Linked DNA regions of Homo sapiens: regions 1, 2, 3, 4, 6 and 7 are each linked to region 5. Evidence: promoter capture Hi-C in 16 types of primary human blood cells and fetal thymus (Javierre and others, 2016). All regions are on one chromosome and are shown on one strand. The core of a region is centred on a gene start or on the middle of the fragment in contact, and the rest is flanking DNA. Distances in the headings are between cores, read along the strand shown. Region 1 has its middle 110 kb from the start of MIR4272. Region 2 has its middle 53 kb from the start of MIR4272. Region 3 has its middle 92 kb from the start of MIR4272. Region 4 has its middle 100 kb from the start of KBTBD8. Region 5 holds the start of TAFA4 (TAFA chemokine like family member 4). Region 6 has its middle 82 kb from the start of KBTBD8. Region 7 has its middle 7.9 kb from the start of MIR4272.

What was found. The method cuts DNA at HindIII sites, captures the fragments that hold promoters and counts their contacts. A CHiCAGO score of 5 or more calls a contact.
Region 1: a fragment that was not itself captured here is called in contact with the fragment with the promoter of TAFA4 in region 5 in 9 of 17 cell types (naive CD8 T cells, activated CD4 T cells, M2 macrophages and 6 more); the score reaches 9.7 in naive CD8 T cells.
Region 2: a contact is called between a fragment that was not itself captured here and the fragment with the promoter of TAFA4 in region 5, in 4 of 17 cell types (total CD4 T cells, non-activated CD4 T cells, activated CD4 T cells and 1 more). The highest score is 8.7, in total CD4 T cells.
Region 3: a contact is called between a fragment that was not itself captured here and the fragment with the promoter of TAFA4 in region 5, in 8 of 17 cell types (naive CD8 T cells, naive CD4 T cells, total CD4 T cells and 5 more). The highest score is 12.3, in naive CD8 T cells.
Region 4: a contact is called between a fragment that was not itself captured here and the fragment with the promoter of TAFA4 in region 5, in 8 of 17 cell types (M2 macrophages, total CD4 T cells, total CD8 T cells and 5 more). The highest score is 8.9, in M2 macrophages.
Region 6: a contact is called between a fragment that was not itself captured here and the fragment with the promoter of TAFA4 in region 5, in 8 of 17 cell types (M2 macrophages, M0 macrophages, total CD4 T cells and 5 more). The highest score is 9.5, in M2 macrophages.
Region 7: a fragment that was not itself captured here is called in contact with the fragment with the promoter of TAFA4 in region 5 in 1 of 17 cell types (endothelial precursors); the score reaches 5.7 in endothelial precursors.

The regions. Positions count from the first base shown.
Region 1 is chr3:67,115,693-67,119,255 of GRCh38, reverse strand. No RefSeq gene overlaps it. Among named protein-coding and RNA genes, the nearest start is that of MIR4272, 110 kb to the left of the region's middle. The HindIII fragment of the contact is 6,876 bases long and covers 1-3,563 here.
Region 2 is chr3:67,170,576-67,173,969 of GRCh38, reverse strand. No RefSeq gene overlaps it. Among named protein-coding and RNA genes, the nearest start is that of MIR4272, 53 kb to the left of the region's middle. The HindIII fragment of the contact is 9,105 bases long and covers 1-3,394 here.
Region 3 is chr3:67,131,675-67,135,112 of GRCh38, reverse strand. No RefSeq gene overlaps it. Among named protein-coding and RNA genes, the nearest start is that of MIR4272, 92 kb to the left of the region's middle. The HindIII fragment of the contact is 5,179 bases long and covers 1-3,438 here.
Region 4 is chr3:67,099,192-67,102,303 of GRCh38, reverse strand. No RefSeq gene overlaps it. Among named protein-coding and RNA genes, the nearest start is that of KBTBD8, 100 kb to the right of the region's middle. The HindIII fragment of the contact is 4,626 bases long and covers 1-3,112 here.
Region 5 is chr3:68,930,977-68,934,143 of GRCh38, reverse strand. It overlaps TAFA4 (TAFA chemokine like family member 4), which reads left to right and starts at 1,597. Exons shown (of 6, transcript NM_182522.5): 1 at 1,597-1,904. The HindIII fragment of the contact is 2,333 bases long and covers 126-2,458 here.
Region 6 is chr3:67,078,554-67,081,738 of GRCh38, reverse strand. No RefSeq gene overlaps it. Among named protein-coding and RNA genes, the nearest start is that of KBTBD8, 82 kb to the right of the region's middle. The HindIII fragment of the contact is 861 bases long and covers 1,069-1,929 here.
Region 7 is chr3:67,231,652-67,235,125 of GRCh38, reverse strand. No RefSeq gene overlaps it. Among named protein-coding and RNA genes, the nearest start is that of MIR4272, 7.9 kb to the right of the region's middle. The HindIII fragment of the contact is 559 bases long and covers 1,063-1,621 here.

The DNA.
Region 1 (3,563 bases), core at 927-3,426, 1.8 Mb after region 5:
ATTTTTCTCCCCAATTTGTCCTCATTTGGTAGAAAATGTGAAGGAAAACTAAGAATTATGTTTTTGACCTTTTATTCTGGTTAGTGGGATTTCTTTTTATCCCAAGTCGCATTGGCAAAAGAATTCTACACTTTGATTCTACAGTGCAGTGGCATTAGAGTATGACATGGATGTGACATTTAATGTTTCACGCCTTGTATATTAATGGAGGGGGGTGTTAGAGAAAGATGTCCTGAGGGTGAAGCAAGACTTCTATTTTCTTCAAATCTTCATTGCTTTTCTGCTTTCATCACAGAGGGGGATTATAATGGTTGAACAGCTGCAGGCAGACATCTCTTGGAATCCAGCAGCAGCTCCGAGATTCCAAGAAAAAGTTTAAATAACATTTTCTACAGAATTCACATACTTACAGTTAATATTTTGGATCATTTCAAGAAAATGTAATCGTGAACTCTTTCCACTTTTTTTTGTATGTTGCCATGACAACTAGGATCAGATTGTGTTCATAAGTAACTCAGTGGAATTGCATGATTCGCCTTACCAGTAAGCAAATCACTTATAACCTCATCTTTCCAATGAAAAATATTGTGGCTACTCACTTATTTCCTGTTCCATCCTTAGCAGAATAGGTTGTTTTAAGGGTTTTGTTTTGATTTTTTTGTGGTGATATTTGGATTGATAGCCAGACAAATAACTAGTCACCCCTTTGAAAGCGTTAGGCAGATGGTCGGCAGGGGGTTGATAGGAGAAAATAAAGGTATAGATAAACTGGAAATTAATAAATCAGATACAGATCAAAGTTGTGACTCTGACATCATTAGCAGCCTGCTCTCATTAACAGAACTGACTACCCTTGTTCAGGTATATAAATTCTCCCTTTTTCAAATATTTAACATTTTGACTCTACATGGAAGCTATGTATGACAGTGCAAAGAGAAAAGAGGTTACGTCATTGAAAATGAAATCTCTCCATATTAGAACTCTTTTTTTGCCCCAAGAGGGTTTCTTTTCATACATCTGAAGAGAATTGGTATCCAGCTTGCTTATTAAAATGGCCATATCATTTACTAGGGCTAGTCTCAAATCCTAGTTACATCTACTAAGAAAATTATTCTCAGAGAGTGGTCTGGCCACTAAAAGTACCTGACCGATTTTACCTCTGCCACTATATAAGTGGTAATCTCTTCCAAGACTAGTATATAGAGAAATAGACAACCTATGCACAACTTAAATACCTAAGGGAGTGCCACATCTTGAAGATGAAGATTTGAGCCCCTCTTATGCAAAAGTAATATTTAAAAGTCTTCTATCTTAAAAGGAGAAAATGCCTGTTTGCCTTTTCCTTTTTATCTATCCCTGCCAGTTCCTAGGCACATGAAGTTCAAACTTTCACAAGGTGATATAGGATGAGTTATTTTAACAGCAATAACAGCTGCACACATCTCAACACTAGTTTCATTTCTTTTGGGGAATTGTAGTGGGGAATAAAGCATTTTATTTTCCCTATTCAGAAAGAGAGAACATTGTTGGGTTTTCAGGAGAAAATTAAGTTATCCTTTCTGTTTTGTTTTTCTCTGACACATTCTCTCTCTCTCTCTCTCTGTCTGTCTGTCTCTCTCTCTCTCTCTCTCTCTCTCACACACACACACACACACACACACACGCAACCCAAACTCACACATTCAGACATGAAAGATTTCGTTTTCATGTTTCAGACCTTCAAAGTCAGAGAAGATGGCTACCAGCACTGGAAGTTAGAGGAGGACAAGGTGGAGTGCCTTAAACCAAAATGGGGCTTTCCATAGAAGAAGGAAATAATGGGTTTCCAGCATGTCAAGGAGGTCATAGGGCCACAGTGAGGCAACACATCTATGGTAGAGACTGCACATTAGATTTTACATATTTGTGAACAACTGCAAAAATCTCCATGCCCCAGTTTGGCATAGAGGGAGTAGAGTTGTTCACCTTTGAATCATTATGAGAGTCTGAACAATGAGCATTGAGGTTAGGGTTCAAAGCCAGATTTTTTTTTTTTGAGATGGAGTCTTGCTCTGTCACCCAGGCTGCAGTGTAGTGCCATGATCTCGGCTCACTGCAACCTCCACCTCCCGGGTTCAAGCAATTCTCCTACCTCAGCATCCCAAGTAGCTGAGATTACAGTTGTGTGCCACCATGCCCAGCTAATTTTTGTATTTTTAGTAGAGACAGGGTTTCCCCATAATTTCCAGGCTGGTCTCGATCTCCTGGCCTCAGGTGATCTGCCTGCCTTGGCCTCCCAAAGTGCTGGGATTACAGGCATGAGCCACTGCGCCCAGCCCAAAGCCAGATTTAATTAATTGAAAATGTGATTTTACTTGCACCCAAGTGTAGGAAGTACATTTAAACCAATCCTAAAAATTATTGACAGTGGAGTGTAGTTGTATTTTCACCTGTGTATTAGTATATGTCTTAGGGTTCTCTAGAAGCAGGTCTTGAGACAAGAATTCGAGTGCAGATGTTTTATTTCAGAGGTGAATCTAGAAAATCCCAGTAGATGAATGAGTAGTGACACAGGAAAGGGGAGGTAGCCAGTAAAATGTACATTGTCAAACCAGTTGTCATGTGAGTAATGGAAACTCAGTCCTGCTGGGGAATCCTGAGGATGTCCAACTTCAGAATTATCCTACCTGTAGAGTAGAGAACTTGGACATTTGTCTACCAACTTACAATAGTCATTGTTCATGGCTGCTTCCAAGAGGAATTATTCTCTGGATTTCCAACCTATTCAATGGGGCCAAGGAGCCTCTGGCCACCAGAGAAAGCCCTCAGGCCATTGGAATTTGAGGGTGCACTAATTCCAAGGAGACAGGAGTAGCTTCCCCACTTCCACAGGATCTATTACAGTTTATGATGCAATCAAATAGCTCTCCATTTATAACAAGTCAATAGCCTGGTTTTATTTCCCAGGTGGAATCTTTTCACGCAAACAATGAAGATTTCAAATGTTACATTTCAAGTGTAGGAAACACAATCTTAGAGATAGAATGGATCAGAAATAATCTAGGTTTTTTCCATTCATTTTATCAATAAGGTAATGGAGGTCTAGAGAAAAAAATATGTTCAGATTTCCTCTCATGATTGATATACCCCATATTAGCAGCCAGAGGTTCTGATTTCCAGCCCAATATTGTTTTGACCAAATTATACGGGGTTTTACCACCTCTTGTGTGTAGCTATTGGTCAAAAGTGGAAATGAAGCCATATATTACACAATATATGACCTGAGCTGGCACACTAGTAAGACTGTTATTGTCACTGGGTCATTAGAATATAATGTCACTCTATTTTCTATTTCTCAATGTTCCTTCCAAGTTACAGTGGGATTATAAACCATCCCCCTTCCCCAAGTCTTACATTTTCCACGTTCTGTGGCATTGCTGTGTCTCCCTCAGATGGTGTCTTCCTCTGCTTGAAATGGAGTTCCACATTGTAGCCTCACCAGATATTTTGTTAGCAGATAGGTGCATATTGACCTTTTCAAGTTCATCACAAATTTATTACTTTGATTCCTGCCAAAAAGCACT
Region 2 (3,394 bases), core at 645-3,144, 1.8 Mb after region 5:
CTGCACTCCTGCCACCAGGCCCTTTGCTGATTCTCAAATGAGCCAACCTCATTCTTACCTCACATGCTGTATTTTTGCTCTTCCATCCACCTGGAACTCTTGTTTCCCTGACTGTTTTCTTCTCATTAAGTTCTTTAATTAAAAGTGACCTATCCATTAGAGAAATGCAAATCAAAACCACAATGAGATACCATCTCACACCAGTTAGAATGGCGATCATCAAAAAGTCAGGAAACAACAGATGCTGGAGAGGATGTGGAGAAATAGGAACAATTTTACACTGTTGGTAGAAGTGTAAATTAGTTCAATCATTGTGGAAGACAGTGTGGCAACTCCTCAGGGATCTAGAACTAGAAATACCATTTGACCCAGCAATCCCATTACTAGGTATATACCCAAAGAATTATAAATCATTCTATAAAGACGCATGCACATGTATGTTTATTGCAGCACTGTTCACAAGAGCAAAGACTTGGAACCAAGCCAAATGCCTATCAATGATAGACTAGATAAAGAAAATGTTGCACATATACACCATGGACTACTATGCAGCCATAAAAACGGATGAGTTCATGTCCTTTGCAGGGACATGGATGAAACTGGAAACCATCATTCTCAGCAAAGTAACACATGAACAAAATCAAACACCACGTGTTCTCATAAGTGGGAGTTGAACAATGAGAACACATGGACACAGGGAAGGTAACATCACATACCAGGGCCATCATGGGGTGGGGGCCTTGAAGAGGGATAGCATTAGGAGAAATACCTAATGTAAATGACGAGTTGATGGGTGCAGCAAACCAACATAGCACATGTATACCTATATAACAAACCTGCATGTTCTGCACATGTACCCCAGAACTTAAAGTATAATAAATAAATAAATAAATAAATAAATAAATAAATAAATAAATAAAATAGACACTGAAGCAAAAAAAAAAAAGAGAGAGAGAGAGACCTGTCCTGACCACCTTATCTAAAGAAGCTCTCCAAACCCCAGTTATTCTGTTTTGTTTAACATTCTTCATAGCACTTACCACAATTCAATCTTGTCTTTCCTGTGTATTTACCTCTTGTTTATCTCCTCACTCATCCTCAGTAGAATATATGCCACTCAGGAGCAAGGACATTGTCCCTCCTCTTCACTGTATTCCCAGAGTATGTGCAGCCTAGCACATAAAAGGCTCCCAACAAATGTTTGTGACTCTGGCTAATCAGCTGATCATATTTTTCCAAGATAGCAACATCATCTCCTATCCCATATGTTTTCTAAAACCCTAGTCACATCCCCATAAAGAGGTGCAGACTACTTCCCTTCTTCTCCAACCTGGGTGGGTAGTCTTATAACTAGCTTATAATCAGTAGTGTGTAGTAGAAGTGATACAGGCTAAGTATCCCTATTCTGAAATTCTTGGGACAGAAGTGTTTTGGATTTTTAGTGTTTTTTTTGGAGTGTGGAATATTTTCATATACATAATGAGATATCTTGGAGATGGGACACAAGCCTAAACATAAAATTCATTTATGGTTTATATACAGTTTATATACATAGCCTGAAGGTATTTCATATCATATTTTAAATATTTTTTTGCATGAAACTAAGATTGTATACACTGAGCCATCAGAAGGTAAATATGTCACTAGCAACCACCTATGTGGACAGTCTGGTTGCTTGCATGGGAGAATCTGAACATGTGCAACAAATGTACATCACAGCTGAGGAGGGCTCCAAGGGTCTTTGTTCCCTTGGAAGCACAGAATAAACTGCTTGTTATGCTCCTGCACTGTGACTTGCAGCCTGTCACATGGGGTCAAGTGTGAAATTCTCCACTTGTGGCTTCATGTCAGCAGTCAAAAAATTCAGACTTGGGAGCATGTTGGATTTCAGATTTTCAAATTAGGGATGCTCAACGTGTATTGCGTAACTTCAAAAGCTAGGTCATAAAAGGTGGTACATCTTACCTTTGGAGTCCAGATTAACCCATGTGCAGAGGCCCAGGAACTACATGAAGACAGTAAGCTGCCCATCCAGCCCCCAGCTGCTTCAGCCCCACACTCTCCCAGCCACCATATGACTTGAAACCACAAAGGGAACCTGAGCTGAGCCACCTAGCTGAGTCCTTCCAAGATTCCTGACCCACAGAAACTGGAAGAGATAATGACATAATTGTTGTTGTTTCAATCCACCAAATTTTGAAGTCATGTGTTACCCAGCAATAGATAACTAGGACAGTGGCTGACTGGCTGAATTTGTGAATGAATGAATGAGCTACCAAGCATATAAAGCACAACTTATTATTTCCAATCTGATTCAGAATGAAGTGAAGAACATGTAATCAAGACAGAAAACTATCTTTTAGAGATCTGTGTGTCTAAATAGAAATCAAATATTTTAGCAAAATTCTAATATTAAGTGCCCCAATACAATACAGCTTCAATTGTACTGTTGATTAAATCATATACCCTCTGGAACAGTATAAGACATGTTTTACCACTGTATAGAAACTGTTGCCTATCACAAGTTGCCACTTGTTCAAGGTAATTATGGCCAATTACTGATGGCAATTTTTTATTGCTCACTGTAGCCTCACCAACCCTTTCAGACAGCCATGAACAATTGATTAGGGTTGTCACTATACATGTTTGTCATGCTGGCCTTAAGTAGACCCCAAAACATCCCAAAGAGACACAGATTATCTCCATTCCTCACATCCCACCATCTCTTTCTCTGGGATTTGGACAGTGAGGCTCGAACTAGGGGCAACATGACAAATTTGAAAGTTGACAATATTTGGCTTGTCTGTCAACTCTTCTGAAATTCTATTTCCATCTATATCCATCCCTAATGAGGGAGGCAGCATTTGTTTATTGACTATTGGAGTTACTCACTGGTTGATAAGCAGGCCCAGAGATCTCTATCAATAAGAATTTGCTCAAAACAATTGGGATGTTAGGATGGTACTAGCATTTTCAAATACTTTGTCCATTGGTTTGTTTTGGACAACACTGGATTGTTAGTTCTGCAAGGATTTCTTTCACTCATAATTAGTCTGTATCGCTCATTTTCATCCACATACATGTGTGCTATTGTTGTCTATAAAAATGAGCACAGTATCATTATTTGCTTTCAACTAAACTGAGAAAGTAACAATTCTTTTGGCCCAAAGCACTTATCTATGATCTCAAATACTATCTTTGTCAAGTAGTCTTTCCTAGTTCCCTACAGTATACTGCTCATTATCACTTTTTCAGAACTCCAATATTGGTTGGTATTTCCTAGAGACATTCAGTATTCCATGAGACAGAATTATTTTTGCAATTGCTTTACATCCTCCAATTATATTGCAGAATCATCCCTTGACTCATCTTTTGCATTCTCTGCAGAGAATGA
Region 3 (3,438 bases), core at 623-3,122, 1.8 Mb after region 5:
AGTTATTTTTTTGGTTTGAGGATTTTCTAATTGAATCCTCTATGATGTAATGAGATTGTATAAGATTGATTTAATTCATAAGGTCTCACTTAACAGTGGAAGGATGGATAGAGGGAGGCAGGGATAGATGGATGGGTGGATGGATGGATGGATGGATGGATAGATGGATGGCTGGATGGATAACAGTTGAGGCATTTCAGAAAAGTATTTTGTCCTCTGGGCAGAAGGTGAAAGTATTGTGTCTGGACTTGTGAGAGAACAGGCAAAAAAAAAAAAAAAGTGTAATTCCAGAGAGGAGGCTAGAATTAATGAATTAATAGATTCCAATGAAGACAGTGAAAGGAAAAGCAATGTAAGTCTCCCAACCCTGTCCTTCATTCTTCTCACACAGATAAAAGCCAGCTCATGAGCTGAAGTCAGTTCTTTTTGCCCAATCTTAACTGTGGCTCCAAAAGCTCCTAAAGTTGTTGTCCTGGTATTTTATAGTAAAAGAGGAGCCTGTGTGCCTGACACAGTTGATCTGAAAGTAACTTCTAATTGCAAGAAGATAGGGAGCAAATTGCAAGTATCATTAAGGAAAATGACTGGTTTCAACACATAGCTAAAGTCAAGTAGACTGAGACAATTAATTCTGTTACTACTCAGTGCTGGCAAGTTAATTTATGACCCAACTTTCTAACGCCTGATTATTTCATGACTGGTTTTCTTTCCTATCAATGATTTTAATCTAGGTTTATCTCAAACATTTTATCTTAGCAATCTTTTCTAGATCAGAAAAGAAAGGGAGAAAGATGCATACTAAGCACTTGGGTGCCAGCATCAAATTCTCTGGGTTTGAATTCTGACTTCACCACTTACTAACTGTCACTTTGGGCAAGTGATTCTACCTTCCTACACCTTGGTTTCTTTGTCTCTAAAATGGGGATAATGCATATAAAGCATTGTAGCATTGAAGTGGGCCATAATCAGGGCATTTTACAACATTTCTCTGATCAGCTTGCCACTTTTAGTGCAGTGGCGCGATCTCAGCTCACTGCAACCTCCAACTCCTGGGTTCAAGCGATTCTCCTGCCTCAGCCTCCTGAGTAACTGGGATTACAGGCATGTACCAGCACACTCAGCCAATTTTTGTATTCTTAGTAGAGACAGAGTTTCACCATGTTGGCCAGGCTGGTCTCAAACTCCTGACCTCAAGTGACCTCAAGCCTCAGCATTTTGCTCTTTTTGAATAACGTATCAATAGTATTAAACAAGAGGGCCGGGCGTGGTAGCTCATGCCTGTAATCCCAGCCCCTTGGGAGGCCAAGGCCGGCTGATCATAAGGTCAGCAGTTCGAGACCAGCCTGGCCAACATGATGAAACCATGTCTCTACTAAAAATACAAAAATCAGCCAGGCGTCGTGGCACATGCCTGTAATCCCAGCTGCTCAGGAGGCTGAGGCAGGAGAATCGCTTGAACTAGGGAGGCGGAGGTTGCAGCGAGCCGAGATCACACCACTGCACTCCAGCCTGGGCAACAGAGTGAGACTCCGTCTCAAAAAAAAAGAGAGAGAAACTTGGGAGAGTCGACTTTGATCTCGACACTCCTCCTATTTCCTTAGCTTGCAAGGAATAGTCCTGAAAACCTCAAAAGTGGCAAAGTTAGTGAGGAAAACATTGATCCTACCAGATTCAGATCTTGTCCTTCAGGAGATACTTTTACTGCGTTGCTGATGCTGCATAGGTGTTACATTCTAGCTCTATTGGCCCATATTAATGAAAGTGACATAATGGACAATTATAACTTGTGCTTGAGCATGGACCATACAGTTCCTTCCACATCCTTAGAAAACAAAATTAAATGTGAATTTTTATTTTATCTTTGTGTTAGTGGTTCAACCTAAATTGTACTTGGCAGACCCATTGGTAAAAGCCAAACTTATGTAGCATAGGATTTGCATTTGTGGAAATGAACAGGTTAACTGATTCATTATCTACAGTCAGCCTACAATTAAAGGTTGATTCACTGGTATAGTTATCTCCTCCCTGTTCTTCAGATTTGTTTCTACCTACCTCTGCCCAGAGCTAGCCTGACTCACATGGGCCTGACTGCAATGAAACTTGCATTTTGATATCTGTTGGGTGTTTTAACCATACACACATTCCTTATGTTTTTCTCCTTTAGAACATTATCAAACTATTCTCTGTGAATGAAAACATAAGTAATGGGAAAGATATTTATGGTAAAGACGCCACTGTGGAGCAAATGGAAATCTTCCTACTTCCAACATAGAAAAGGTTAGAGTGTTGTGTAAGTTCTTGTTTGGCTGAGAAAAACAAAACGATGGTAGCCTTGTTCCCAAACTAACCAGTAGTATACTGAACCATTGCTCTGTGGGACAGAGCTAAGATAAAGGTATCTGCAATCTCTTGAACCCCTTTTACTCTAATAACTCCATCATTACACACCAGAACATGTGTATTTAAAGAACATCAGTCTTAGCATTTGTTGACCAGCAGAACATTTCTATCTAAAATAATCATTAAAAAGCCAACATCTATTCTGTGAAGTCTCTAGATTTCTATTTGTTCAAAGAAGGAGAAGAATGTCAACATCCAAGAACTCTTTTATAAGAGTAAGTAACTGTGACAAAGAGAGGAGGATGTCATCCTGGTGGAACAGATGTACACCTGCTGTGGGAGAGTTGTGAATGCCTTGTGAATGCTCTCTGCCCGGGTCAGATGTCCAGCCTCTCTAGAGAACAGCCATCCAATCCCTGGGAAGGGACCATCAATCATTATCCATGGGTCAAAATTTCCAGCAGTGCTAGAGGAAACATTTTGATTAATGCCTACATGGTGACCTGGATGTGCTGAGGGCTGAAAGTTGTAGTGAAAATGAGGTAAGAAATAATTGTTTTTAATAACCTTGATAATTGTCCTTCTCATGGTTCTTATTATGAATTCTAAATTTATTCCACACTATTAAAACCCAGTCTAGATATGTTATTATGAATGAGTTCCTGTAAGCTAGAAACCACCATGAGAGAATGCTGGTTTGAGCCCCTGGAACCGTATGCTCTTGGTTTATGTATTTAAAAAAAAACATGAAGATTCAAATAAAACTAATTATATTTAGCCAAAAGGGGTATGAAAAGTATAGAGAGCAAGGAAGTTGATTTTAAACAAGATTTCAAAAGACTTCCTCAAATACTTAAGAAATCGGTATTTAAACAAGTCCCAGAATCACAGCAGAACACAGAAGAAGGTCTGTTAGGAGTCTTGATGGAAATATTGACTAACCTAAAAGAAAGGCAAGAGCTGCTGAATTCTCCTAGAGGAAAGGCAAGAGCTGCTGAATTCTCCTTCAATTACAATGCTTAGGGTTATGATTCTCTTAGGTGACACTGGTCTGAACTTCTTTTGTATAAGAATGTTTAAATGACAACGATGAATCTT
Region 4 (3,112 bases), core at 433-2,932, 1.8 Mb after region 5:
CAATTGACTACATTTGTGTAAGTCTTTTTCTGTTTTATTGATCTGTGTGTCTATTCTTTTTCCGATACTATGTTATCTTGATTTCTAGCTTTTAGAAAGTCTTAAAGTTAGGCGTTGTGATTCCTCCATGTTCTTCTTTACTATTGTTTTAGCTATTCTAAGTTTTTTTGTCACGTAAACTTTAGAATCAGTTTGTCAATATGTGTAAAATTTCTTGCTGGAATTTTGAGTAGAATTATGTTGAATCTATAGATAAAGTTGGAAATAATTGCCATCTTAATAACATTGAGTCTTCCAATCCGGGAACATGGAAGATCTCTCTATCTATACCTTCTTTGATTTTTTTAAATCAGAATTTTATAGTATTTTGCATACAAGTCAATAAACGTGTTGTTAAATTTATACCAAGTATTTATTTTTGTGGGTGTACCACTGTAAATAGTATCTTTTTAAATTTCAAATTCCAATTGTTAGCTACTAATACATAAGACAACAATTAACTCTATCTTAACCTTTCATCCTGCAAACTTGCTATGCTCACTTATTAGTTCTGTTAGCTTTTTGTTTATTCTTTCAGTTTTTCTACATAGATGATTGTATCATCTGCAAATAAAGACCATTCTATTTCTTCCTTCCTAATTTGTATACATTTTATTTCTTTTGCGTGTCTCATTGAACTAGCTAGGACTTCCAGTATGACATTAAATAGGAGTGTTGAGGGGAGATCCTTGCCTTGTTTCCAGTCTTAGAGGAAAGTGTCCAGTCTCTCACCATTAAGTATGATGTTATCTGTAGCTATTTTGTATATGTTTTTGATTAAGTGGAGGAAGTTTCTCTCTATTCTTAGTTTTCTGATAGCTTTTTAAATGACTATGTTCCATTTTGCTGAATGGCTTTTTAGCATCAGTTGATATGATGATATAACCTTTCTTCTTTAGCCTATTGATACAGTGGGTTACATTGACTGACTTTTTAATGTTGAATCAGCTTTGCATACTTGGAATAAATCCAACTTAATGTTGATGTATAATTTTTTATACATTGTTGTATTACATTTGGTAATATTTTCTTGAAGATTTTTGCATTTTTCTTCATGAAATATATTCATGTATATTTTATCTCTCTTGAAATGCTTTTGATATTGGAGTGATACTAGATTCCTAGGATATTTCAGAAGTGTTCCCTCTGCTTCTGTTTCCTAGAAGAGATTGTGGAGAATTGGTATAATTTCTACCTTAAATGTTTGTTAGAATTCACCAGTTAACACATCTAAGTCTAGCTTTCTTCGTTAGAAAGGTATTAATTATTGATTTGAATTATTAAATAGACATAGGGCTATGCTGGTTATCTATTTCTGTGCATTTTGAAAGTTTGTGTCCTTCAAGAAATTGCTGTTTAATCTAAATTATCACAGTGGTCATAGAGCTGTCTGTTTATAGTATTCTTTTATTATCCTGTAGATATCCAATGGATCAATAGTGATGAACTTATGTTCATGTCTAATGTTGCAACTTGTGTCTTCTTGTTTTTCTTTTTTAATGGTTAGCCTGGCTAGAAGTTTGTCAATTTTATTGATCTTTTCAAAGAGCCAGTTTTTAAATTCCATTGATTTTTTCTTTTGTGTTTTTACTTTTATTGATTTTTATTTTAATTTTTATTATTTCTTTTATTCTGCTTGCTTTAAATTTAAGTTGCTCTTTTTTGCTCAGTTTTCCATAGCAGAACTTTAGTATACAGAATTTTGATGATTCTTGTTTTTGAATATGTACATTTAGTGCCATAAATGCCCCTCTAAGAACTACTTCCTCTGTGTCCCATGTGTTTTCATAAGTTGTATTTTCCTTTTCATTTAATTAAAAATATTTTAAAATTTTCAGTGAGACCTCTTCTTTGACCCATGGTTTATTTAAAAGTGTATTGTTTAATTTTCAGATATAACGTTCTGTTATTGATTTCGAGTCTGATTCTCTTGTGGTCTCAGGACACATTTTGTATAAATTCTATTCTTTTAAATTTATTCAGGTATGTTTTATGCTTGAGGATGTGGTTTATCTTGGTGAATGCTCCATGTGAACTTGAGAAGCATCTGCTGTTGTTGGATGGATTATGCTATAAAATATCAATTAGACCAAGTTGATTGATGGTGCTGTTCAGATCATTTAGAATCTTATGACTTTCTGTCTGCTTAGTGTATCACTTACCAATGGAGAAATGTTGAAATCTCCAACTATGATAGTGGATTTATTTGTTTCTCTTTACAGTTATTCAGTTTTTGCCCCATGTATTTTGGTATTCTCTTTGTAGGTGCATATACATCTTAAATTGTCATGATGTTTTTGAAGAATTGCCCCCTTTACAATTATAATAATGCTCATCTTTGCCCCTGATAACCATTCCTGTTTTCAAAGCTGCCTTGTCTGAAATTAATTTAGCTGCTCCAACTTTCTTTTGATCGATATTAGGTTGGCATATCTTTTTCCATTTATTTTCTTTCAGCCTGAGTCTTTATACATAATGCGGGTGTCTTGTACACAACATATAGTTGGAACTTGTTTTTATGTCCACTGTAACAATCTCTTTTTAATTAGTGTTTGCAGAACATTCCAATTTAAATTCATTGTTTATGTGGTTGGGTTATCATCTACTATGTGTCTGTTTTCTATTTATTGAATTTGTTTTTTATTCCCTTCCTAGTGCTCTCATTTTTCTGCCTACTCTGTTTCAAATGAGCATTTTACATAATCTTATTTTATCTCCTTTCTTAGTATATCAACTACATTTAAGAATTTTTTGATGGTTGCCCCAAATTTACAATATACATTTTAACTTAATAGAAGCTCACCATCAAATAACACTGTACTGTTTCACATGTAATGCAGGCACATATAAATAGGATATTTCCAATCCCTCCCTCTTGTGCCATTGCTGCCATTAATTCACTTATCCATATCCTGTAATCACCCGGTATATTATTGTTATTATTACTTTCAATACATACTTGTCTTTTAGATTAATTTAAAATAATAAAAATACAATATTTTATTTTGCCTTCATTGATTTCTTCTCCAATGCTATTCCTTGTTTTTACATAGTTCAAGTTTCTTACCTATAT
Region 5 (3,167 bases), core at 348-2,847:
AAGAGCTCTGGAATCTCCTGGCATGCTATTTCAGGTTTTGCTTGGATCTCCCCTTTGGCCGTCACAGAACTTCAATGCTAGTCTTTAAAGGAAATCTCAAAGATCAAGCGCCTATCTCCAAAGCTTGAATTCTCTCTTAAACTGGTGACATCTTGATAACAAATTGCCTTTGAATGTAGAACCCCCATTTTAATAATAAGAGAGTAAGAGATTGAAACTGTTTAACAAGTAAAATGTGCTATGGTATGTGTGGTACGGGGAACAGAAGCAGAAGGCCTGCCATACGTTAGTTCAAGGGGTAGAGTCAGAGAAGGGTGAACATACTTTGGAGTGCAGCAGGGGCAGGATGGCACATAATTGTATGTCAATGCAGAGTAAAAGGACCAGAAGATGATAAGCCAAGCCAATGACAGTGAGCAGCATAGTGGTACAGAGCAACGTTTTCTAACTTTATGCATGCACCAGCCACTTGGGCATCTTGTTAAAATGAAGATTCTACTTCTGGGGTGGGGCCTGAAAGTCTGCAGTTCTAAAGTGTTCTCAAGGGACCGCTCTACGACGCCATGCTTTGCATACTAAAGAGCATGGATTTACTAGTTACCTGTGTAATCTTCAGTAAACGATTTAACTTCTCTGTGCTTCAGTTATCTCATCTATAAAATAGAGATCAGATGAACTAATCCCAGTAAAATGAATACCATTAAGTGACACTGATTATCAGTTACTTCACTTGCGGAAGAGTGGAGGGCATGACTAGGAATGGGGTGGGAGGAGGGAGTCAAAGAAGTCTTAGCTGAATTTTTTTTTTTTTTTTTTTTTTTTTTGAGACGAAGTCTCGCTCTGTCGACCAGGCTGGAGTGCAGTGGTGCGATCTCGGCTCACTGCAAGCTCCGCCTCCCCGGTTCACGCCATTCTCCTGCCTCAGCCTCCCGAGTAGCTGGGACTACAAGCACCCGCCACCACGCCTGGCTAATTTTTGTATTTTTAGTAGAGACGGGGTTTCACCGTGTTAGTCAGGATGGTCTCGATCTCCCGACCTCATGATCCACCCGCCTCAGCCTCCCAAAGTGCTGGGATTACAGGCGTGAGCAACCGAGCCCGGCCCCAGCTGTATTTTATACATTAAAAAAGAAAAGTATTTAGGTATTCATACGTGGGCCGAGTTTTCTCCTCTCTCATACAAGCACATTACACGCGAAGCCAGATTAGTTCATGAATGTGCTACTGCACGGGGTGGCTAAGAAATCCTGCTTGCAAACCGCTTTGGGTCCTGCGTGGAGAATGGTTTCGAGTGAGAGCCGAACCCTAAATCCGTCTTCCTTATGTGGAGCTCAACGCGACTCTCAGGTATTCAGGAAGAATACCTTTTGCTCAGCACCTGCGGAGTGGTGGCCACAGCGAGGCGCTCGGGAGAGGCGCCTGGAGGCCGGCAGTGGGGGCGCGCCGCCTGAGCAGGGGTGCGGGGCGGGGAGAAGGCCGGCCCACGTGGACCGCGGGGCCAGGCAGGGACAGGAGCAGCCGGGCGGCCCGGCCAATCAGCGCGTTCCGCGGCGGGCCCGGCCCCTCCTGGTCAGCGCGCTAGCTGGGCTCGGCTCCGCACTGCTAGCTGCGCGCCGCCCTGGACGGGGCGCACCGACTGCGCGCGCGGCTGCGGGCAAACATCGGGAGTCCTGCCTCAGCTGCCGCTTCTCCAGCAGCAGCTTCAGGCTTCTCCCGCAGGAGCTTCGGGCTTCTCCTGGTAGAGACGTGGGAACTTTTCTTCTCCTGGCGAGGCTGCAGAGGTGATGGGCCGCTCCCGGGGCTCCCGCGGGGAGGCGGCACGGTGAGCGTCCTCGGGCTCCGGTGCGGCGATCAGTACCTAGTTCCGGACGCGCCGGTCCGACTTGGATGCCGGCTCTAGTCGAGTAAGAAGGGTTGGAAGGGATAAGGAGGGGCGAGAGGATGGGGTGGGGGTGGATTTGGACCCTGTATTTAGGTGCTGTCTCGTGGGCAGCCGCTGCCTCTCGGCTGGTACCGAGTTAACTCAGCTCGGTGCAGCTCCCCTCATCCCGGCTCTCTGGGGCGCCGGGGAGAGTGCCTGTGCTGAGGTCGGCGTGCAACCCGAAGTTGGAAGGGGCACTCCGAAGTAAGGATGTGTGGCTGGAGAGAGGCAGCGGCCGCTTCCAGTTTCGGGGTTCATGTCTGACAGAATCCCCGGGGGTGCTCTGCTGATGCGGAGGAGGCCACTCGATGAATTGGTATAGGGGGTGGTGAACTCACCGTGAGCTCTTTTCTGGACAAGTCGACCTTAGCGCTTCATCCCTTTAATCTGAGCTAGGATCTTTCTAGGAGCAAGCAGGTGGGAGCCGGTCAGCGTCCCCCCGCCCCCACCCCCACCCTGAAGCTCTGGTTGCTAGGATCTTGCTTGAAGGGCGCAGCGAGCGCTCGGGAGGCGTCTTCCAGCTGGGAGCGCAAAGCTTCCCGCCCAAGTGGAGAACTGGAGCGGGTCTGGAAGTTGCGTCTCTTTCCGCGGGAGGCATCTCAGATTTGCCCACCAAGGTGGCATCTCTACATTTCTTTCGCTCTTTTTCCCACTTTGCCCTGTTAATCCGCTCCTAGAAGAGAGGGCATCCTTGACCCTACGCAAGGAGCTCGGGAGAGGATTGGAACTGGAAAGCTTGATCTCCTGCACCTGGTGAGGCTGCCCAAGCCAGACACAGTGCCGCTGGTGCGTTTTCTTCTCGAATCAGCATCATTTAACGTTTAGGGGCTCCACGGAGCCTTAGTAAAGCTGTGAATCAGCTCCTAAGCAGTATGTACATGCACGGGTTCACGGACTCGCCGAGACCTAGCCTGGTGCCCATCCCCCGTCACCGAGATTCAGGGACCCCCCTTTGGTTTAACGTCTTTATCCCTGAACTCTTTTCCCTTTTAACTTTTCAATGGTCTTCCCTCTGAGACAAGCAAGGTTGATGTGATGTGACAGGCGATCCCCGTGTGTGGGGATGGGCGCCTTCGAAGCTTTGGTCTGTTTCTGTCTCTAATATCCTTGGCATAAAGCTTGTCCACCATAACTCGTAGCTGCCACCTGCAGACTCGGTCACCCAAACTTGTGCACACTGATGGCCTAGCTTCCTAATCACACGCATCTTCGTTTGGCCCCCTCTAGAACACTCGCTGAGGAGGGA
Region 6 (3,185 bases), core at 250-2,749, 1.9 Mb after region 5:
GTATATTTTTAAATAAAATATTGATAATGGTGAGTAGTACTGGATAAGTACCAACTAAGACTTAGTGAGTTCCCCCAAATGTCTCTGATGAGAATTGGTCCTCTCCTAATGACAAGTATAATTTTTTTTATTTGTGTGCTTCACATATGATATTTAATTTGAGATTCCTCTCCCCACAGTAGTTATTATTCAATAATGAAATAATGAAACAAATTAGGAAATACATGTTCATTTGTATGAATGTATATGTATGCAAGTATACATATGTGTATCCTTATTACAAAAACACCCATTTGAAAAGCACTTAAAAAGAAAAATAAGAAAAGAACAGTGACCCCATGATTAAACTCTTCACAAGTAGTTAATATTATTTAACATATATATTTCCCAACTTTATTGTAGTTTTAATAATACATATCTTATATGTAAATATACACATATATACACATAATTTGGAACAAAATATATTGACTGATATCTTGAGTTTTTCACTTATTGCATTGTGGTGTTTTTACATGTCCTCATAAAGTATTTATTGAAAGCAATCTATGGTTTACTTCTTAATATCTCATTGTATTTATATCTTTTAATTTATTTAACCTTCTATCATTGGACATTTGTAGTGTTAGCACATACATACCATTTTAAATAATGCTGCAATTAACATCTTTATATCTTTTTTCTTTTTTTATCTCTTAATGTTTTATATGATAAATTATTATAAGTGGAATTTCCCGAGACATGGTAATGAACATTTTAAATTCTTGATATACATTACTAAATCAGTCATTTATAACTTACATATTATTTTCGGCAATGGATAACAGTTACCATTTATCCATATCCTTAACTTCGTATATTAATATTTATTTGACCCTTGTCACTTTAATACATTAGAAAGAACTCCTAATTTTTAAAATCAGATGATTTGCTTATTAGTGAATATTGATTTCTTTATGTCCTTTGCCCATGTATCTTTATAATCTTAAGAGTTTTATATGGTCTCACAATATTAATCCTTTATCTTCATTTAACAAGTATTTTTGACCATCCACTTTATGCCAAGCTTTAGGCTAGGTACAGGAGGCGCAATATTGAGTGAAGTATAGTTTCTTCTTTTCTCACGGGCTCAGAGTTTGCCTTCTTTTCTCACAGAGAAAAGAGTTTACCATCTGTGGGAGACAGGCAGTTGAACAGTGGGTTTATAGGAGAAATATAAGGTGCTAAGGAAACTTAAGGGATCGGCACTGTGCAGAAGAGCTATTATAACAGGGCTGGAACTGCTGTGATAACTTGCAAATACCTGCTTTCAAGGCTGCTCCTGGACTTCGTGAGAGTTACAACTGTTCCCCGATAAGACTGGTTCATTGTGCCTAAACTACTCATACAAATAATGTGCTTTATTTTTAAACACCTGCTTTCTCTTGGGGAGTCTGAAATCTAGGTATACGGCAGACAGAAGCTGCCCACAAGACCAGACCCCAAGAATACCCCTGGGCACTTAGTTTGTAATGAGCTTCCCTGGTAGACAATATTTCACACATGTTGTCCTGACTTGTTGCTGGGAGAATTAAGCACATCCTGTGTGACTCCACTTGGAGATGTCTTTGAGCACCTGCACCCAGTTTGTTTCAGATTTCACCCCAAGTGCCCTTTTCCTTTGTTGATTTTGATTTCTATCTTGTTGCTGTAATAAATCTTCACAGTGAGTACAGCATATAGAGAGTCCTGTGAGTTCTCCTAGCAAATCATGAACCTTGGGGATGATCTTGGGGAGCCCATGCACAGATACCTAAGCCAGTCATACTACATGCTTTTTGGGGAGTAGGTGAAAACATATGGAGAACTTAAAGACTCAGTTAGAGCACCTCAGTAGTGAAGAAAATTAACCCTAGACCAAACACTGCTCTAGTCCTCACTAACAAAGCTTAAAAGCAAGACCTGAAAGGGCCACAGTGTTTCAAAGCAACTTAACCTTGTTTCAAAACAAAGCTGGAGAATAGTTTTAGAAGGAAATAATCCAGGCTGGGCGCAGTGGCTCGCCCCTGTAATCCCAGCACTTTGGGAGTCCGAGGTTGGCGGATCACGAGGTCAGGAGATGGAGACCACCCTGCCCAACATGGTGAAACCCCGTCTCTACTAAAAATACAAAAATTAGCTTGGCGTGGTGGTGTGTGCCTGTAATCCCAGCTACTCAGGAGGCTGAGGCAGGAAAATCGCTTGAACCCGGGAGGCAGAGATTGCAGTGAACTGAGATCGCGCCACTGCACTCCAGTCTGGTGACAGAGCGAGACTCCAAGGAAGGAAGGAAGGAAGGAGGGAGGGAGGGAGGGAAGGAAGGAAGGAAGGAAGGAAGGAAGGAAGGAAGGAAGGATGGATCGATCCAGCACCTGGCTGGGCATGGTGGCTCACACCTGTAATACCAGTATTTTGGGAGGCCAAGGCAGGCAGATTGCTTGAGCTCAGGAGTTTGAGATCAGCCTGAGCAACGTGGTGAAACCCTGTCTCTAGAAAAAATACAAAAATTAGCCAGGCGTGGTGGCATACACCTGTGGGCCCAGCTACTTGAGAGACTGACGCAGGAGGATCACTTGTGCCCAAGAGGTCAAGGCTGCAGTGAAATGTGATCACACCACTGCACTTTAGCCTGGGTGACAGAGCAAAACCCTGTCTCAAAAAAATAAAAAAGAAATAATCTAATACCCAATAAGCTAAAATTCATAATATCTGGCATCCAACAAAAAATTACCAAGCTTGCAAAAAAGCAGAAAAATGTAACCCATAGGAGAAAAATCAATAGAAACTCATCTAGAAATGCTACAAGTGATAAAAGTACTAGACAAGGACCTTAAAACTGTTATTTAACTACTCCATATACTCCAGAAGCTAGAGGAAAGATTGAATATGTTAAGTGGGGACATGAAAGACATGAAAAGATACAAATCAAACTTCCAGGGATGAAAACTACAGTGTCTGAGATGCAAAATACACTGGATAGGAAAACAACTATAGCTTAGATATTGCAGAACGAAAGGTTAGTTAACTTGAAGTCATAGCAAATAGAAATTGTCCAAAATAAATCATAGAGAGATAAACAGCTCTAAAGATTAAAAAGGATATCAGTGAACTATGGGGAACTTCAAGCAGTCAAATATATGTGTAAATTATGCCTTAAAAAGGAGAGG
Region 7 (3,474 bases), core at 93-2,592, 1.7 Mb after region 5:
ATTATTTTACTTATACTTTTAACCACTTTGCTGCTTCTCACAGTAACTGTTTGATATCTCTTTTCTTATTTCTTAATGTACAATATGTTGGTTATTGAGGCTTCTGGCTTCTTTTTAATATTCTAGCTTCCATCATTTTTGGTACTTTAGAGACTTATCTCTCTGAAACAAAAGAATTGGGAAGAGTGAGAGTTGAAATCTAAGTGCCTATGGGGTTCAGCCAGAAACATAAATGAGTGAGGCAGGCCAGGTGGACAGCCTGGGGATGTGACAAGAACTTACCCTCTGGGAAGCTGCTCTCAGGTCCAGCAATTGCAGCTGTGGAGGATGCAAATCAATGTTGTCAGGTCATCCTGTTTTTCAAGAGAAGTACAACATCTAGATTTTGATATGAAAACTGCAAATGGAAATATCCGTATGAAATATCTCAAATATAAAATGTGGACAACAAGGCAATCTAAAAAACAAAACCAAAACATAGCAAGTCAATTTAAACATCTCCATATGCTCAATCTAGCCCATTGATCTGTAGTTAGCAAGCTATAGGAGAGAGTGAAGAAATTGAAATAGAAGTATAAGTGGCTTTAGATAACTGATCCTGTAGTTCTTGTTTAAAAAAAAAAAAAAGAAAAAAGAACATGATGAAAGACAGGTTGTAACTATTTAAGATCTTATAGTAGGGATTTCTAGGAAACAGAGCTACAATAATCATAGTATCACAATACTTTTGCATAGTGCTTCATATTTTTCAACTTGCTTCTATATATGCATTTAAATCTCCCTGCAGATCATTTTGATGGCTCAATCACTCAGTCAATATTAAGCAGCAGAATTTAGGAATAGACCCCGATCTCGCGATTCTCAACCTGGTTTTCTTTTAGCTCTACACATCCTGAGCAGTGATAACTGACCATCAATATTTGCAATCCTTACAGGCTTGTGCTTTTTTATCTCATACAGACAGGAGATAAAATACTAGGATAAGGGACAGAGCTCACGCCTGATTACTGATGGAGAGAAACAGGACAATCATTTGAGGATACATATATGATTGCTAAAGCTTGTTATTCTTGGCAGATCGAGATTGTTGATTTCCATGTGGTCCTCCCTAAATAATCTCTAATTACAAAAATACGCGCCTAGCAAAGGCTGAATAAATAATGTAATTGCGGCATAATCATTGTGTACATTCCTAAACACTCACCTAATGACTAGTAGTTTTAGAATTTGGTACTCCAAGTGCAGCTATTGCCAGCCAGAGCTGAAATGTGGCATGTTTTGCATGCTCCACGGAAATCATTTTAAATTAAGTGGATTTGAAAAATCATTACATGGAGGCAGATTTTTCTGATCACTTGGCCTGTGTGGGCCTCTCAAATGTCAGTTCTGTGCAGAAAGGGCTCGTGGCATTTGATGCCTTTCTGCCAGGTTGTGTATTTGACAGCTGTTCTGGGGTGTCTTTTCCCAGCCACTGGCCTGGCTACTGTCATAAAACCAATTAAAGTTGCAGGCAATTAATGTTATTTTCCTCAAGTGCTCCTGGAAATGCTTATATCATGTAGCACTTCAGCATGAAATCCGTGACCTTTGGAAATGCATGCACAGGAAGAGCAAATAAGCTTGGCTATGCATGTACGGTGTGCCATTAAGTTACGAAGAATATGAAAACAAATTGTAGTTGCTGGGTGCAGAGATGTCCGTGGAGCACTTTATATCCTAGGATTCTTAGAAATGAAGATATGTGTTCACACCAAAACCCAGATAAACCATAAAGGGGTGGTAGGTATACCGAACAGCAAAACATTTGCATATGTTCAGCAAATTATTTAACAAAACTTATGAACTGAAACACATTCAGAAAGGGGCTCCATGACTAGTAGTTTGTACCTGTTTTACCACATTTTAAGAAGGATATTAAACTGAAAATGAAAAGGAAAACCTGCCACTTTAGGAAGGGTTAGAGACAACAGAGCTGTTTAATCTAGAAAGAGAAGATTTAGGTATAAGGACAGCAGAGTTATCCTTCATTAGGTAAAATGAACTTTCCATGAGAAAGTTTGTCTTATTCCCTAAGTTATCCCAACAGATTTTTTTGTATCCCTTGGTTGAGGAGGGGACCTGGAGCATAGTAGGTGATAAATAAAAGTGTATTAAATAAGAAAGAATGGGACACACCATATGGTTGGGTATTATTTACCCATTCAGTTAAAAAGAAATGAATATATAAAAATAGCTGTTCCATGCAATATGTGGTTTGTGAGGTATGCTCCCTGTTATCTGCATAAGCCAGAGCTACAAGCTGGTAGCTTATGGACTGTCACTTACATATGCATGGGTACTGTTTGCCTATTCAGTATTTTCTTAATCGTTGATGTTTAAAAAATTTTTAATTGAGATGCTTGCTTGTGCACTCCTGCTCTTGCTCTCGTGCATGCTCTCTCTCTCTCGCACACACAAACACACAGAAACACACACACACCCCACACTTACACACCGCCCTTATCCTGCATTTTAACAATTGCCTGGAGCTGCACAGCTGGGGCATTAGCTTTTTGGTTCTTATCAGACCTCACTACTCCCTGTTGTTTTAGACTGAGCTCCATTTCACTCACTGATCTGGCCTTCCTTGCCCCTGAAGATAGCTGAGCTTGCCAACCTTAGTTTAAGCAGAGGCAGCAGTCAACCATGTATCATGGGAGTATGTATGGCAGACACACCTGATAGCAGTAATGTAACTTAAGCATACCCTGACAGTGACCCTTATGGAAGATGCACCTGATAGCAATAACATAAGCATACCCTGAGAATGCAGACGCACCTGATCTGTATAAACTGCATGCTTTTTACAAATGGTAATGGTTCTCCTGTCCAGCCCACTGCCACTGCACCAACCTGTATGTAAGTTCCTTCAATAAATCCTAGTCTCTTTCACTGGCTCTGGGTCTCTTCTTTGGCCTCTGTAAGATGACTTCAATAGGGGCCTGGCATGACAATTTGCACACCAGCCAGGAGGTCAGAGAAAGCTACATGAGCACCAAGACAATGGGACTGGGAAAGGGGGAAATATGAGGGAGAAATCTCAGGCTGGCTGTCCATGCCTGTGTGGGACCTGATAGCCACTACTCTTGATGGACAGGATCCAGTGTGTGAGCACAGGGATGCCCTGAAAACACTGAAGGGCCTGGAAGAGTTGGTGCAGGCGTTGATCTATCTGAGTAAAAGTGAGATGCTGGAGCTGTGGCAGCCATGGTTGGCTGGCTGCTCCTGACTGCGATTTGACAGCCCCTGAAGCTAATCCTGTAGCGCAAGCAAGGGTGTGTCAGTTACAGGATGAACTATGACTAGAAAGAGGTTCCAGATTAGTTCAGGCTGAAATCTCAGAGACCTTACTATCCCACATGGAGGGTGACAAAATGGAGACCCTGGCTTGTCAGGTAGCTCATCTAAAGGATTGCCAGAAGTGATGTTAACGAG